Linked DNA regions of Homo sapiens: regions 1, 2, 4 and 5 are each linked to region 3. The links are contacts of gene promoters, found by promoter capture Hi-C in blood cells and fetal thymus (Javierre and others, 2016). All regions are on one chromosome and are shown on one strand. Each heading gives the region's core, a stretch centred on a gene start or on the middle of the fragment in contact. The rest is flanking DNA. Distances are from core to core; before and after follow the strand shown.

Evidence for each region. The method cuts DNA at HindIII sites, captures the fragments that hold promoters and counts their contacts. A CHiCAGO score of 5 or more calls a contact.
Region 1: a fragment that was not itself captured here is called in contact with the fragment with the promoter of MCPH1 in region 3 in 12 of 17 cell types (activated CD4 T cells, total CD8 T cells, total CD4 T cells and 9 more); the score reaches 23.9 in activated CD4 T cells.
Region 2: a contact is called between a fragment that was not itself captured here and the fragment with the promoter of MCPH1 in region 3, in 16 of 17 cell types (fetal thymus, total B cells, naive B cells and 13 more). The highest score is 23.9, in fetal thymus.
Region 4: a fragment that was not itself captured here is called in contact with the fragment with the promoter of MCPH1 in region 3 in 17 of 17 cell types (total CD4 T cells, fetal thymus, activated CD4 T cells and 14 more); the score reaches 31.4 in total CD4 T cells.
Region 5: a fragment that was not itself captured here is called in contact with the fragment with the promoter of MCPH1 in region 3 in 8 of 17 cell types (total B cells, naive B cells, fetal thymus and 5 more); the score reaches 10.1 in total B cells.

The regions. Positions count from the first base shown.
Region 1 is chr8:6,738,422-6,741,121 of GRCh38, forward strand. The region is part of intron 4 of AGPAT5 (1-acylglycerol-3-phosphate O-acyltransferase 5); the gene reads left to right. Among named protein-coding and RNA genes, the nearest start is that of MIR4659A, 5.4 kb to the right of the region's middle. The HindIII fragment of the contact is 1,782 bases long and covers 403-2,184 here.
Region 2 is chr8:6,684,251-6,686,950 of GRCh38, forward strand. All of the region lies in intron 1 of MCPH1-AS1 (MCPH1 antisense RNA 1), which reads right to left. Among named protein-coding and RNA genes, the nearest start is that of MCPH1-AS1, 23 kb to the right of the region's middle. The HindIII fragment of the contact is 1,042 bases long and covers 805-1,846 here.
Region 3 is chr8:6,405,177-6,407,876 of GRCh38, forward strand. MCPH1 (microcephalin 1) reads left to right here and starts at 1,451. Exons shown (of 14, transcript NM_024596.5): 1 at 1,451-1,513. The coding sequence starts at 1,492. It overlaps MCPH1-DT (MCPH1 divergent transcript), which reads right to left and starts at 1,372. Exons shown (of 2, transcript NR_040040.1): 1 at 530-1,372. RefSeq lists silencers at 1,193-1,272, 1,533-1,712. The HindIII fragment of the contact is 9,682 bases long and covers 1-2,700 here.
Region 4 is chr8:6,760,452-6,763,151 of GRCh38, forward strand. It overlaps AGPAT5 (1-acylglycerol-3-phosphate O-acyltransferase 5), which reads left to right. Exons shown (of 8, transcript NM_018361.5): 8 at 1-1,052. Among named protein-coding and RNA genes, the nearest start is that of MIR4659B, 17 kb to the left of the region's middle. The HindIII fragment of the contact is 3,469 bases long and covers 1-2,700 here.
Region 5 is chr8:6,662,060-6,664,759 of GRCh38, forward strand. The region is part of intron 1 of MCPH1-AS1 (MCPH1 antisense RNA 1); the gene reads right to left. Among named protein-coding and RNA genes, the nearest start is that of MIR8055, 41 kb to the left of the region's middle. The HindIII fragment of the contact is 8,157 bases long and covers 1-2,700 here.

The sequences.
Region 1 (2,700 bases), core at 44-2,543, 330 kb after region 3:
CTTATATGGGTGCAATTCATGGCACCCCCAAACAATTACAATAGTAACATCAGAGATCACAGATCACAATAACAGATATAATAATATGAAATATTGTGAGATTACCGAAATATGACACAGAGACGTGAGGTGAGCACATACTGTTGGAAAAATGGCACCAATAGACTTGCTCGATGCAGGGTTGTCATAAACCTTCAATGGGAAAAAAATGCAATTTCCGTGAAGCTCAGTAAAGCGAAGCATGATAAAATGAGATGAGCCTGTCACTCCTAAGAATGTTCCTGTACAAGTTTTTTGCATCTGTTACTTACCTTTTCCTATTTGTGAATAGTATCTTTTTTGAGTACGTGTGTTTTTTTATTTTTATACATTTATATGTATCTTTTGAAGAACATACTTTTAAGCTTAATTTATTGATTTTTTTTCTCTCATAATTTCCACTTTTTGTATCCTATTTAAGAAGTCCTTGCCAAACTTAAGGTTGCTAAGATTTTCTCCTTTGTTTTCTTCTGGAAATTTTAGAGTTTTGCTTTTACATTTAGTTCTAGGATTTATTTATAATTAATGTTTTCATATGGTGTAAGATCGAAGTTCATATTTTTTTAATATAGGTAACCATCACTATAGAAAAGATTATTTCCCCCCAATGTTTGAAATAAGTAGACTGAATATAGATGGGTCTGTTATCCCTAGATCAATGGAGCATTTGTTCTGTTATATTGATCTATATATATATATCCTTATGCCAATACCATACTGTCTTAATAATGCTTGCTTTGCAGTAAGTTTTTAAATAGTGTAGTTGTCTTCTAAATTTGTTCTTTCTTTTCAAAGTTGTTTTGGCTATTTTAGGTTTTTTGCATTTCTGTGTGAATTATAGAATTAGCTCGACAATTTCTACCCAAAGTTTGTGGGCTTTTCATTTTGATTGTATTGAAGATATAGATGAATTTGGGAAGAATTGATATAACAGGATTGAATCTTTGGATTCATGAACGTAGCCTGCATTTGTTTACTTAGGTCTTCTTTATTTATCTCAGTGTGTTTTGTAGTTTAATGTACAGATTTGCACATCTTTTGCCAGATATATCCCTAAGAATTTCAGTTTTTGATACTATTGTAGATGACATTTAAAAAAATTTCAAGTTTTTGTTTGTTGACCTAGGCATATATTTGACTTTTTAATATACTAACCTTGCTAAACTTATTTATCATCTAGTAACTTACAAAATATATTCCTTAGGATTTCCTACATAAACAATCATGTCATTGTTATAGAAATAACAGTTTTACTTTGTCCTTTTTAATCTTGATGGCTTTTATTTCTTTTTCTTGCTAAATTTTCTGGCTAGACCTCCTAGTACAGCCTTGACTAGAACTGGTGTGAGGGAAATCCTTTCCATATTCCTCATCTTTAGGGAAAAGCACTCATTCTTTTATCCATTCTTTAGTTCCTAGCCCCATTGCCCTTCCTAAATTTTTTCTCATCATTTTCCTTCATCACACCTTGTTCTTTTTCTTTGCAATCATATCATGATATGTAACGACATGTTTTTATTTATCTGTTTAATGTATTTCTTTTCCTCACTTGTCCATGAAGGGAAGGACCATATGTGTTGTTATCCTTTGTGCAGTTCCTGGAACATAATAAGTATATAAGAAATAGTTTCTGAATTAGCTGTGAATGAATTCATGCCTTCCTGCTGTCTGTCAATGTTCTTTTAAATTAAACATCTAAGACAGCAAATAATACCACATGAGTTATTAACCTGAGAAATAATCGTTTTATTTATAAATGACTGAGTTGAAAGCTGATAGCCCACAGTAATTGCTTTCATGGCTTTGAATATAAACCTTACTGTTACAAAACACATTTTCATGAAAATGAATGTGTGGTGTTTGGAACTAGCTTTAATGTTTGTCTTCCTGTTTTTCCTTCTAGTTGCTATAATATAATAAGGAATTTTGTATGTTTTTCCTAATTGTACCCACTTTTCTACATTTTCTTAACAGATCTGGTGAATCTTCATTATTAAATATAATTATACATATAAATTATTGTTTAATAATAATATTAATTATTAAAAATAATATAAATTATTAAATATAAAGATACATATAATATTATCTGTTAATTTCTAAGTTAGGTGTGGGTTCTGAAGACTATTATATGAATGAACAAAAAGCTTGCATATTTGCGTGGAAGCTGAAAGTACGAAATTTTTAGATACCATTATACCAGTATCTAAAGAAAAAATTCAGTACCACATAGGTTTTTAAGTAGGAGCTGTATGATCATAGGTCATCCAGATGAAGGAAGGCTTCTGTACCAGACGTACAGAGGTAGACAGTGTTGTCTGAGTACTGTCTGAGATCTGGCAAGAATGAATCCAATAAACGTAGTTTTCTCCCATGAGCTCCTGTCTTGTTTCCTGTATTCTGTTTGTATTTGAAAAGATTTGGTGTGCATAACTTATTTTTGTCTTTTGGCTGTCAATCAAAGTTATTAGTGTAGTTTTTGTAACTCAGTTCTCAAGCTAGGAGTTTTTGCTGTATAATTTTAATGTTTCTGTTTTTACTTTCCTAAGCAGATAAGCGTAAAAACTTAGACTAATTGATTACTTATTAAACGTCCAGCTTGATATTCTTCTTTATATTATTTTAGTTTCAGTTTATATAACAAATGAGGTTTCTTATAAA
Region 2 (2,700 bases), core at 76-2,575, 280 kb after region 3:
GGGGTTATTAGGGGCTGTGGAGAGGTGGGAGTCAGGGGTTGTTGTTTAGTGGGTGCAGGGTATCAGTTTTGCAAGATGAAGGAGGTTGATGGTACAACAACATCAATGTGCTTAGTGCTACTGAACCGTATACTTAAAATTGGTTATGATAGTAAATTTTAATTTATATGTATTTTGCCACAAAAATACATTAATTTAAAAACTAACTGTTATGCAGAAGTGTGGATAAATGGCACAGGAAAACAGGTACAGGAGAGATTAAACTTCTACAAGATGTATATAATCACATAGATCACTATACTAAATACGGCAAGAGCTTCAGGTCAATTTGTCTTTTATTCTTTAAAAGGTTTTCTGGGGCCGGGCACCGTGGCTCATGCCTGTTATCCCAGCACTTTGGGAGGCTAAGGCGGGTGGATCACGAGGTCAGGAGTTCGAGATCAGCCTGGCCAACATGGTGAAACCCCATCTCTACTAAAAATACAAAAATTAGCTGGGCGTGGAGGCGTGTGCCTGTAATCCCAGCTACTTGGCAGGCTGACGCAGGAGAATCGCTTGAACCCGGGAGGCGGAGTTTGCAGTGAGCCGAGATCGTGCCATTGCATTCCAGCCTGGGTGACAGGGTGAGGCTCCGTCTCAAAATAAATAAATAAATAAAAATATAAATAAATAAATAAATGGTTTTTTGATATAAGTGCAAAAGATGAGACAAAGGGAATGGCACGCTAGAACCTATACTAGGGACGGAAGTGGAATAAAAAGCAAAATGTATGCTTTGAAGATCTAAAATCTGAAAATTGAGCAAGCTTTCTTGCATCCAACATGACAGCAGAGGATCAGTTGAACAAATCCGTGTCCAAAAGAAAAAAAGACAAGCCATTCGCTTAGCGGAGGAAAACTTATCCTAATTAAAAACAAAATCCCAACCTTGAAAGAGCCACAGATCTTATCGTGATCTTACTACCGTTATACCAACATTCATGTCATTAAAAGCAATTATCTGGAGCAATTATCCAACTATATACATATATATGGGCAAGAACTAGAAGAAACCAGAGAATTAAGAAAATAGTTTGACACTGATATATTCATCTAATATTATACTTAGTGTCTTCTGTGTGCCAAGCACAGTCCTGGGTGTCAGGGACACAGCAGTGAACAAAACAGATAAAACTCCTTGCCCTCATGTGGTTTATATGCTAATGTGGAAGACAGAAGATAAACTACATAGATAAGGGTGGTAGGTTGTCTTCAAAGATGACTGCCAACAATTCCTCTAATTGCTGCACACACTTGCCACTCTCCCCATCAAGAGGTGGAATCTATTTCCCTTTCATTTGTATCTGGTTGGCCCTGAGACTTGCTCCAACCTATAGGATATGATGCAGTGCACACATGCCTTTTACAGGACCAGCTCCTGAGAGACCTCACAGCTTCCACACTCCCTCACTTGAAGCCTAGAGTCATCAGGTAAGAAGTTTGGCTGTCCTGCTGGAGGGAAGAGACTCAGCCAGCCCCCAGCTGAAGTGCAGATGTCTGTGTGAAGCCAGGTGGGTGTCCCAGTCCCAGCTGAGCTTCCAGATGAAGGCAACAGCGTTGTGACTCCCACTGGCACCATGTCCAGCAGAACGACCATCCAGCTGAGCCCAGTCAAATCACAGAATCTTGAGAAACCATAAGTTGTTGTTTTAAGCCCCTAATGCAGCTAACTGAAATAATAGGCTAAATGTAGTGTAGGTTCATTACTGATAACCCAGGGCAGTGCTAGAGCCTGTGAGTATTGCCTCACAAGAGGCAATAAATTTTCAGGAGTTCTGTGAGCCATTATTAAGAATTACATTATATAAGCTTATAATTACAAACATTTAAACAAATAATATTCAAATATGTGTAACTATTTTACTACTATCTCTTCTTGAGGTTATTTGCATGCACTGGGTCTGCACAGTGGAAATACCATGTCACGGTACGCTACTGTGCATCTCTTCCCACCTCCATGTTCAGCCATGGTATGAGTATTTACACCAGGGAAACTAGCAAGCTCTATAAACCAGAGCTTGATTGTTTTCTTGTTTCTCTGGACTTAAGAAAATGATAGAGAAAAATGTTACCGTGGATTAAACTTAAAAGTGTATTATGGCAGGGTGCGGTGGCTCATGCCTGTAATGCCAGGACTTTGGGAGGCCAAGGCAGGCGGATCATGAGGTCAAGAGATTGAGACCATCCTTGCCAACATGGTGAAATCCCATCTCTACTAAAAATACAAAAATTAGCTGGGCATGGTGGCGCATGCCTGTAATCCTAGCTACTTGGGAGGGTGAGGCAGAAGAATCACTAGAACTTGGGAGGTGGAGGTTGCAGTGAGCTGATATCGTGCCACTACACTCCAGCCTGGCGGCAGAGCGAGACTCCATCTCAAACAAACAAACAAAAACTGTATTATGTCTATAACTGCCACATTATGAATAGCACAAAAATTTGAGGAAATATTCTTCCAGAAAAGCATCAATCAATTCAGGAAACAAATGGGTGAGGTTTTAATATACATCTTTGTAGCCATTTTACTTTGGTCTTCCTCATAAACATAAATAAATGCAGCAATCAACATTCATGCTGGAACTGTATTCACTTGACAATTGAAACCAGAGGTTGGCTACAAGATTACTGCAAAAATTAACAAAAATGCTCTATGAGAATTAA
Region 3 (2,700 bases), core at 201-2,700:
TAATATTTCTAGAAGAAATCCTAGGAGAAAATATTTGTGATCGTGGAGATGAAGAATCTATCAAATACTAAACTTTTTTTACCACCTTGACCAAAAGTAATTGGTTTATATACTTCATCATATCATTTAATTCAAAATCTACAGAGATCAATGTCACTTTCTCAGTAAAAGTACGTGAGTCTTCAATGATGCCCTGAACTCACACTCCCAAGTAAACCATAACACCATATTTCCAGAGTAGAGTTTATTAGAACAATAACTGGTGATAATGATAAATATTGATCAAAGACTGAGCCTAGGAAGTGGGTTTTTTGAGGCTGCATATACTCAAGGCAATTCTTCAGAACCACAGAGGGCTCATTGGATCCTATTAAAAGCTGAGAGTGAATGAATAAACAGATAAAACAGAGACCTGAGTAGACGGTAGTCGATATTCTTTTACATGTATTCTACCTCTAGATTCCATAGAAAGAACTAAAAGTACATGAATTTCACTACCAACATCTCCATCAGTTACCAGCTGTATCACCTTGGATCAGTCAGGTAACCTCCCGCGAATCTGGTTGCTTCCGGGGCAGGGGATCCGCGGGCTGCAGGTTTGAGCCTGGTTGCCGGCAGGGTGGAGCAGCTGGAGGGCCAAGCCTTTGAGCTCCAGGGGGGGTGGCCGGGACAGTGGGTAGTGCCAGCCGATCGGCGTCCTGGGGATTGCCTGAATGTGAGGTCTGGGTTCACCCCGCGGTGACCTGAGTCCTGGGATGCCCCTACAGGGATTTGCTGCCTCAGGGATCCGAAGTCTCTTTCATTCCCTTACTGGGGATTTGAGGTCTGGAGGTACTCCTGCGGGGGTCTGAGATCTCGGGGTCACCCTGTGGGGGTCTGAAGCCTCGGGGTCCCCGCGTGGGGTCTGAGGTATCAGAGTCCCCTCCGTTGGGTCTGAGGTCTCGGGGTCCCCCATCCCCGGGATCGGAGGTCCGGCTCCCCGGAGCAGGCAGGGCGGTGCGTCTGGCCCTGAACAGTAACGTGGCGCGCCAGCCCCAGGTGGTGTCGGGCTAGGGGGGCATAACGGTGCCGAAAGTCCGCACAAAGCCGTCCGCTGGGGTCCCGCCGCGTCCGCGAGGGAATGACTGTGCCCCCTCCCCTTCCTGATCCTCAGCTCAGGTGAGCCCAGATGAGGCGCCGGGTAGCTTCTAAGTCACTAATGGAAATAGAAGGCTAATTCAGGGGTTAGGGGCCGTCGTCCTCCTTACTCCCAGGAGAAGAGAAAAACCCACGGCCCAGCAGCCAGAGGCGCGGCGAGGCGGAATCGGGCCCCCTCCCCGGGGGCTCAGCTCCCTCCAGCCTCCCGCCTCACCTACAGAGAAATCCCGGAAACGCGGATTCAGCGGAGCGCGGTGACGGCGGCGCGCTCACCCCGCGCATGCCCAGTGCCCGCGCGCGCCGCCAGGCTCGCAAGCACCGCGTAGGCCAGCTGGCCGGATCCCGCCGTCTGTCATGGCGGCCCCCATCCTGAAAGGTGAGGTACTTCCTGCTGCCTGCTCCAGCAGCGGGAGTTTGAGGACCGGCACCCCTCGTCGCGGGCGCACTCGGGGGATCCCGTGGGAGGAGCCCCGCTCGCCCCTCCCTCGCTGCCTGTCTCCCCCAGACCCCCTGCCGCCTCCTTCCTCCCCCGCTGCCTGTCCCACCAAAACCCCCTGCTCCTGCTCTCTCCCCCGCTGCCTGTCCCCCCAAAACCCCCGGCTGCCTGCTTCGTCTCCCGTGCTCCCTGTCCCCCCAAACCCCCGACTGCCTGCTTCCTCCCCCGTACTGCTTGTGCCCCAACCCCCGTGCTGCTAGTTCCCCTCAATCCCCCGCTGCCTGCTCCCTCCCCCATGCTGCCTGTCCCCCAAATCCCGCCTTTCCCCCTACCTGCTTTCACCCCTGCTGCCTTAGTCCCTGGATCTGGGGCTCACTGGCAGGCAGAGTCCTGCCCTCCGGAAGTTGGTGTGGGGCCCTCCTGGGTCTGGTCCTGTTCGACCCCCTCTGAGGCCCACCTGGAGGAGCGGCAGTTGAGTTTCTATGCTAATTGTTCCAATAATAGGAGCCGCCTTTTACTGCGGAGTCTTTGTGTGCCAGGCGCTGTGCTTAGGCTAGTATGGTATTGTCTGATTTTTTTAACCGCTCTATCAACTCTCTTATATCATTTTACAGGCAGAAACTAAGGCATCGGACGTTTAGGTGACTCTCCCTGTGTGTGGCTAGTCAGTGCTGACAGGGCCTTAGACCGGAGCTGCTGTCCTAACCAGTATATGATACCGCACGCAGTCCCACCCTCTGTGCACCTGGAAGAGCCCAGGAGAGGGGAATAGCGGACACGTGTCTTGTAGAGTTTGACCGTGAGAAAAAAGGGGCCTGTATTGTGGGGCCTGGAGTCATAAAACCTCATAGCCAAAAGTAAAGACTAGAGGCTTTATACAAAGTCTGTAATCAGATGTGGCTATTTTTCTAATGTTAGTATTTTGTTAAATTAACCTGGTTTTCTTTTAGCGTTACCCCCAATCATTGACCAACGGCACACCTGGAAAATGCTTTTAAACATCAGGTTTTGAGAAGAGGATATCCACTAGAACAGGGGTCCACTCACTATGCCCCCCAGGCCATATCTAGCCTGCTGCCTGTTTTTGTAAGGGTCTACGAGCTAAGAATGTCTTTTACATTTTTAAG
Region 4 (2,700 bases), core at 117-2,616, 360 kb after region 3:
AGTAACTCCCAGATATGTACCACAAAAAATGTGAAAAGAGAGAGAAATGTCTACCAAAGCAGTATTTTGTGTGTATAATTGCAAGCGCATAGTAAAATAATTTTAACCTTAATTTGTTTTTAGTAGTGTTTAGATTGAAGATTGAGTGAAATATTTTCTTGGCAGATATTCCGTATCTGGTGGAAAGCTACAATGCAATGTCGTTGTAGTTTTGCATGGCTTGCTTTATAAACAAGATTTTTTCTCCCTCCTTTTGGGCCAGTTTTCATTACGAGTAACTCACACTTTTTGATTAAAGAACTTGAAATTACGTTATCACTTAGTATAATTGACATTATATAGAGACTATGTAACATGCAATCATTAGAATCAAAATTAGTACTTTGGTCAAAATATTTACAACATTCACATACTTGTCAAATATTCATGTAATTAACTGAATTTAAAACCTTCAACTATTATGAAGTGCTCGTCTGTACAATCGCTAATTTACTCAGTTTAGAGTAGCTACAACTCTTCGATACTATCATCAATATTTGACATCTTTTCCAATTTGTGTATGAAAAGTAAATCTATTCCTGTAGCAACTGGGGAGTCATATATGAGGTCAAAGACATATACCTTGTTATTATAATATGTATACTATAATAATAGCTGGTTATCCTGAGCAGGGGAAAAGGTTATTTTTAGGAAAACCACTTCAAATAGAAAGCTGAAGTACTTCTAATATACTGAGGGAAGTATAATATGTGGAACAAACTCTCAACAAAATGTTTATTGATGTTGATGAAACAGATCAGTTTTTCCATCCGGATTATTATTGGTTCATGATTTTATATGTGAATATGTAAGATATGTTCTGCAATTTTATAAATGTTCATGTCTTTTTTTAAAAAAGGTGCTATTGAAATTCTGTGTCTCCAGCAGGCAAGAATACTTGACTAACTCTTTTTGTCTCTTTATGGTATTTTCAGAATAAAGTCTGACTTGTGTTTTTGAGATTATTGGTGCCTCATTAATTCAGCAATAAAGGAAAATATGCATCTCAAAAATTGGTGATAAAAAGTTATTTCTTGTATATGTGATAAAGTTTACATGTTGTGTATATATGTTGTATTGCCAAATACGGCTATTAAATACTACGTCATATTTTAAAGGTTCAGTTTGTAGTGATAGTAAACAAGCAGTGCACTAAGCCTCTTGCGGGCATCATCTCATCTCACTGTCATCACAAACCCCATGCCACAGCGTAGCTTGACCACTAAAAGTAATGCATCTGCAAGCATACTGCCAGGTTTTGGATAGTTTGTACCAACAGTTACCTTATCAAGGTAAATCCCAGACTCTAAAAGAGTTGGTGCTGTGTCACTACATGCATAACTTTAAATAAATTTCCTGCCGGGCGCGGTGGCTCACGCCTGTAATCCCAGCAGTTTGGGAGGCCGAGGCAAGTGGATCACTTGAGGTCAGGAGTTTGAGACCAGCCTGGCCAACGTGGTGAAACCCTGTCTCTACTAAAAATACAAAAATTAGCCAGGCGTGTGGTGGCAGGCACCTGTAATCCCAGCTACTTGGGAGGATGAGGCAGGAGAATCATTTGAATCCTGCAGGCGGAGGTTGCAGTGAGCCAAGATGGCGTCATTGCACTCCAGCCTGGGCGACAAGAGCGAGACTCCGTATTAAAAAAAAAAAAAAAAAAAAAATTCCTCTCCTGTTTGAGCTTTCCCTTACCTGTAAAGAGGGGAGAATATGTATTTACTTCAAAGAGTTCAGGGAAATGACTCTCACTAGTTTGAGATTCTAGGTATAAAAATACATTCTTATATAATTTTAACACCAATGTGAGAGATTATTATTCTTGCTAAACCAATTCAGTTTTATTTGCTGTCTAAAATGTGTGAATAAGTAATTGTCCATTATTTTCTGAAGTGTTTTGGAACTCAACACATGATTGTGAGGAGGATTTGTTGCTAAACATCTTTCTGGTTATTCAAGCTCGTGTATACTGTGCTCTGTTGAGACATGCAGAGTTACTTTCTGTCTGGGTCACAGGTCAGTTCTTGATAGTTTTCGGACAATTAACCAGTTTTCATTTGCCCATGACCACCTTTATTCTTTTTCCTCAACTGCACCCATCTTTTATAAGGTCTTTCAGTTTATTGCAGAGAAGATGGTGGAGAAAAGCCGGAATTCCCACCCACCGCTGCCATCCCCATGTTTTATCATTGGCTAGAGTGGAAAATAGCAGTAACTACTGTGAGAGATCATTTGTTTATATAATGGAAACAAAGATGAGGAAAGAACCTGGCTTAGATCAGAGAACTGATGTATTTAGATTCTTTTTTTTTTTTTTTTTTAAGACGGAGTGTTGCTCTGTTGCCCAGACTGGAGTACAGTGGCTCAATCTCGGCTCACTGCAACCTCCATTTCCCTGGTTCAAGCAATTATCCTGCCTCAGCCTCCCAAGTATTTGGGATTACAGGCGTGTTCCACCACACCTGGCTAATTTTTTGTATTTTTAGTAGAGACGGGGTTTCGCCATGTTGGCCAGGCTGGTCTCGAAATCCTGACCTCAGATGATCCACCCGCCTTGGCCTCCCAAAGTGCTGGGATTACAGGCGCGAGCCACCGCGCCTGGCCCAATGTATTTGGATTCTTAAAGAACACTTTCAAATTAAATATCAGTTGAAGAGAACTAGA
Region 5 (2,700 bases), core at 142-2,641, 260 kb after region 3:
CTTTTTAAAGATTTATTAGATTCAGGGGCTACTTTATAATATCCTTGGAGCCCAAATTAGACTTTAAGCACATAACATATCTGAGCTTGAGGAGTTTAACTTCTTCAACAAAGGAGCAAAGAGATTTGGTGAAATGACCCCCATGGTCCCTAATGCTGATGGACCCACCGAAGTTAGCCTGTCACCAGAAGCAAAGGGATACTATTTTTAAGATATGAGGATCTTTTCCACATTTCTGTTCAAAGCAGTAACTTTGCAGCTTCATCTATTGAAGGCCTCATCTCCACCTGCTTTTCCTACCCTGGATTCACAGGGCTTGTGGTGCCCTCTCCCTGCCTCCACTCACCTTCCAACAAGTGCTGGAGTTTGATTCACACCAAACAGAAATAGCCAAAATTTGTAAGAACTCTATTGGGCAGCTCTTCTGTATCAATGACTGTACAGGCTCCAAGGGCCAGAAATAATGAAGATACAGCACCTATCTCAGCGAGCTGACAGCCTTGAAGGGGGATGAGGCTGGAAAACAAATGACAACACAGTGTGATAAGTTCACTGCAGACCAGGGAGAGCGACAACTTTGAGAAAGGGTGATTGCTTTTAAACGGAAAGGAAAAGAGCTTGGGAAATACTTCCAGAAGAAACTGACATCTAACTTAGGTGAGTTTTCTTTTTTTTTAGGTGGGGTCTCACTGCGTTGCACAGGCTGCAGTGCAGTGGCTATTCAGAGGCATGGTCATAGCTCACTGCAGCCCTGAATTCCTGCACTCAAGCGATCCTCCTCCCTCAGCCTCCTGAGTGGCTGCAACTACAGGTGCATGCCACCATGCCTGACTCTCTAACATAGGTTTCAAAGGAAGCATAGGAGTTCCGAGTGGAAAAGAGACCAAGGGAGAGGCCCGTGCCAGTCCCGAAGGTGAGGGGAGGTCTGAGGGCCTCAGGATTGCTGGAACTTCCAGTGGAAGGGCACGTTGAGGGGACGCAAGTGAGATATAAGCGTTGGGTAGTTAAGAAAGGCTATTGAAATTTTCCAGACAAGAAATGTTAAGGCGCAGAACACAGTGCTCACAGAGAGGGAAAGGAGGAGGTGGATTAGAAATGAAATTTTGGAAATGAAATTATTTGCTGCCTGAGTGGCTACGCAGGAGGAGCAGGGGGACAGAGTCAATCTGGATGAGTCTTGGACTCAGGCATAAAGTGTCAGCAGTCTTGGGAGGATCCACATCCTCACGGGAACCAGCTCCTTCAGCTAAAGGGAAAAGGTGCTTGGTGCTTCAGCCGGCCCAGAGCGTGCCCTCCATGGACACAAAGAAGCCAAGTTCTTGTTGCTAAAGGTGTTCAACAGAGAAATGTTGGAGGGCCAATTAAAGGCAAAGCCCACCACTTTATAACCACATTTTAGGCATATTAAACATTCTAGAATGTAATCATCAGACTTCTAAACTGAGCCATTTGTGTTATCCAAGAAAGTAAATCAGTGACTTATGTTTGCAGCAATATAATGAACATTATAATGGACCCCTGAAAATGCAGAGTGAATGGTAGGGAATTTGCAAGAAAGGTAGAGAAACGCTCTACCACTGGAGACAAGGTGGAGAAGCAGGTTGACATCCAAGCTGGGGAACATCATGTTGACCGAGCATTGTGTATACACAGGGCGTGTGTGCATCTGCGTGTGTGTGCATGTGTGTATATGTGCATTCATGTGTGTGTGTATGGGAGGTGGGCCGGGACAGGGGAGTTGGAATGGAGACCAACCTGATAAAGCTGACACTCTGGAAGGGTTAGACTCCCAGGAAGAAAGTTAAGAAGGGAGAAGGATAACATCTGCACAAAGGCAAACACAAAGCAACATCCTTTGTCAGCAACATCCTTAGGCACCTGGAAGAAGCAGACACACAACTTCCAGGAATAATGTCCCTGAACCTGGGCTTCTGATGATTCCCACCAATATGACCATCAATTAGAATGCGTGCACACACACAATTCCAAATAAATCATCAAGACAATCATTAGGAAAAATAACAGGACCAGATAGACCAAGACTTCAGGTGTTGGCGTCATCAGATACGGATGATACATGTTAAAAGAAATAAAAGGACGGAAAACCATGAGAACGGAACAAGAATGATAAGATGGAATTGAAAAGGAGGCAGATAGAACTTACAGAAAAAATTTTTTAAACTTAGAATTTAATATTGTTTAAAACGTTTTAGGTCCCCACATAAAAATAGATGGCCTGGGTAGCAAACCTAAGCCAAGGGCACCTTATGAGCTCCTTACAAGGGGCAAATTACTGCCAGCCACGAGCCCCATGAGGTTCCAGGTTCTGCATGGGTGGAAGAAGGAAACTCCAGGCAGCAGCAGACAGCTCTGGGAACAGCAGAATACCACACAGCTCAAGGTTATTCTCCATCTTTTGCTCTGTATTACCAGGAAGCCCAGCAGGGCCAACTGGACGAAAGCGCTTGGGTTTTGCCCAATGCAACTGCATATAATCGAGAGCAAGGGACCCACAGCTGGAAGGGCCCAAGAGTCTGGAGCTCTCTATCTCCCATGAACTCTCAAAACTGACCCATCTGAGTGCCTGTCTGGGCCAGGGCCCTACCCCGAGGAGAAATTCCTGGGAGTAGAATCAAAATCAATCAAGACAGGCATGACAGAGACAAGAGAAAAAGAAGGTCCACACCAGGCCAACAAATC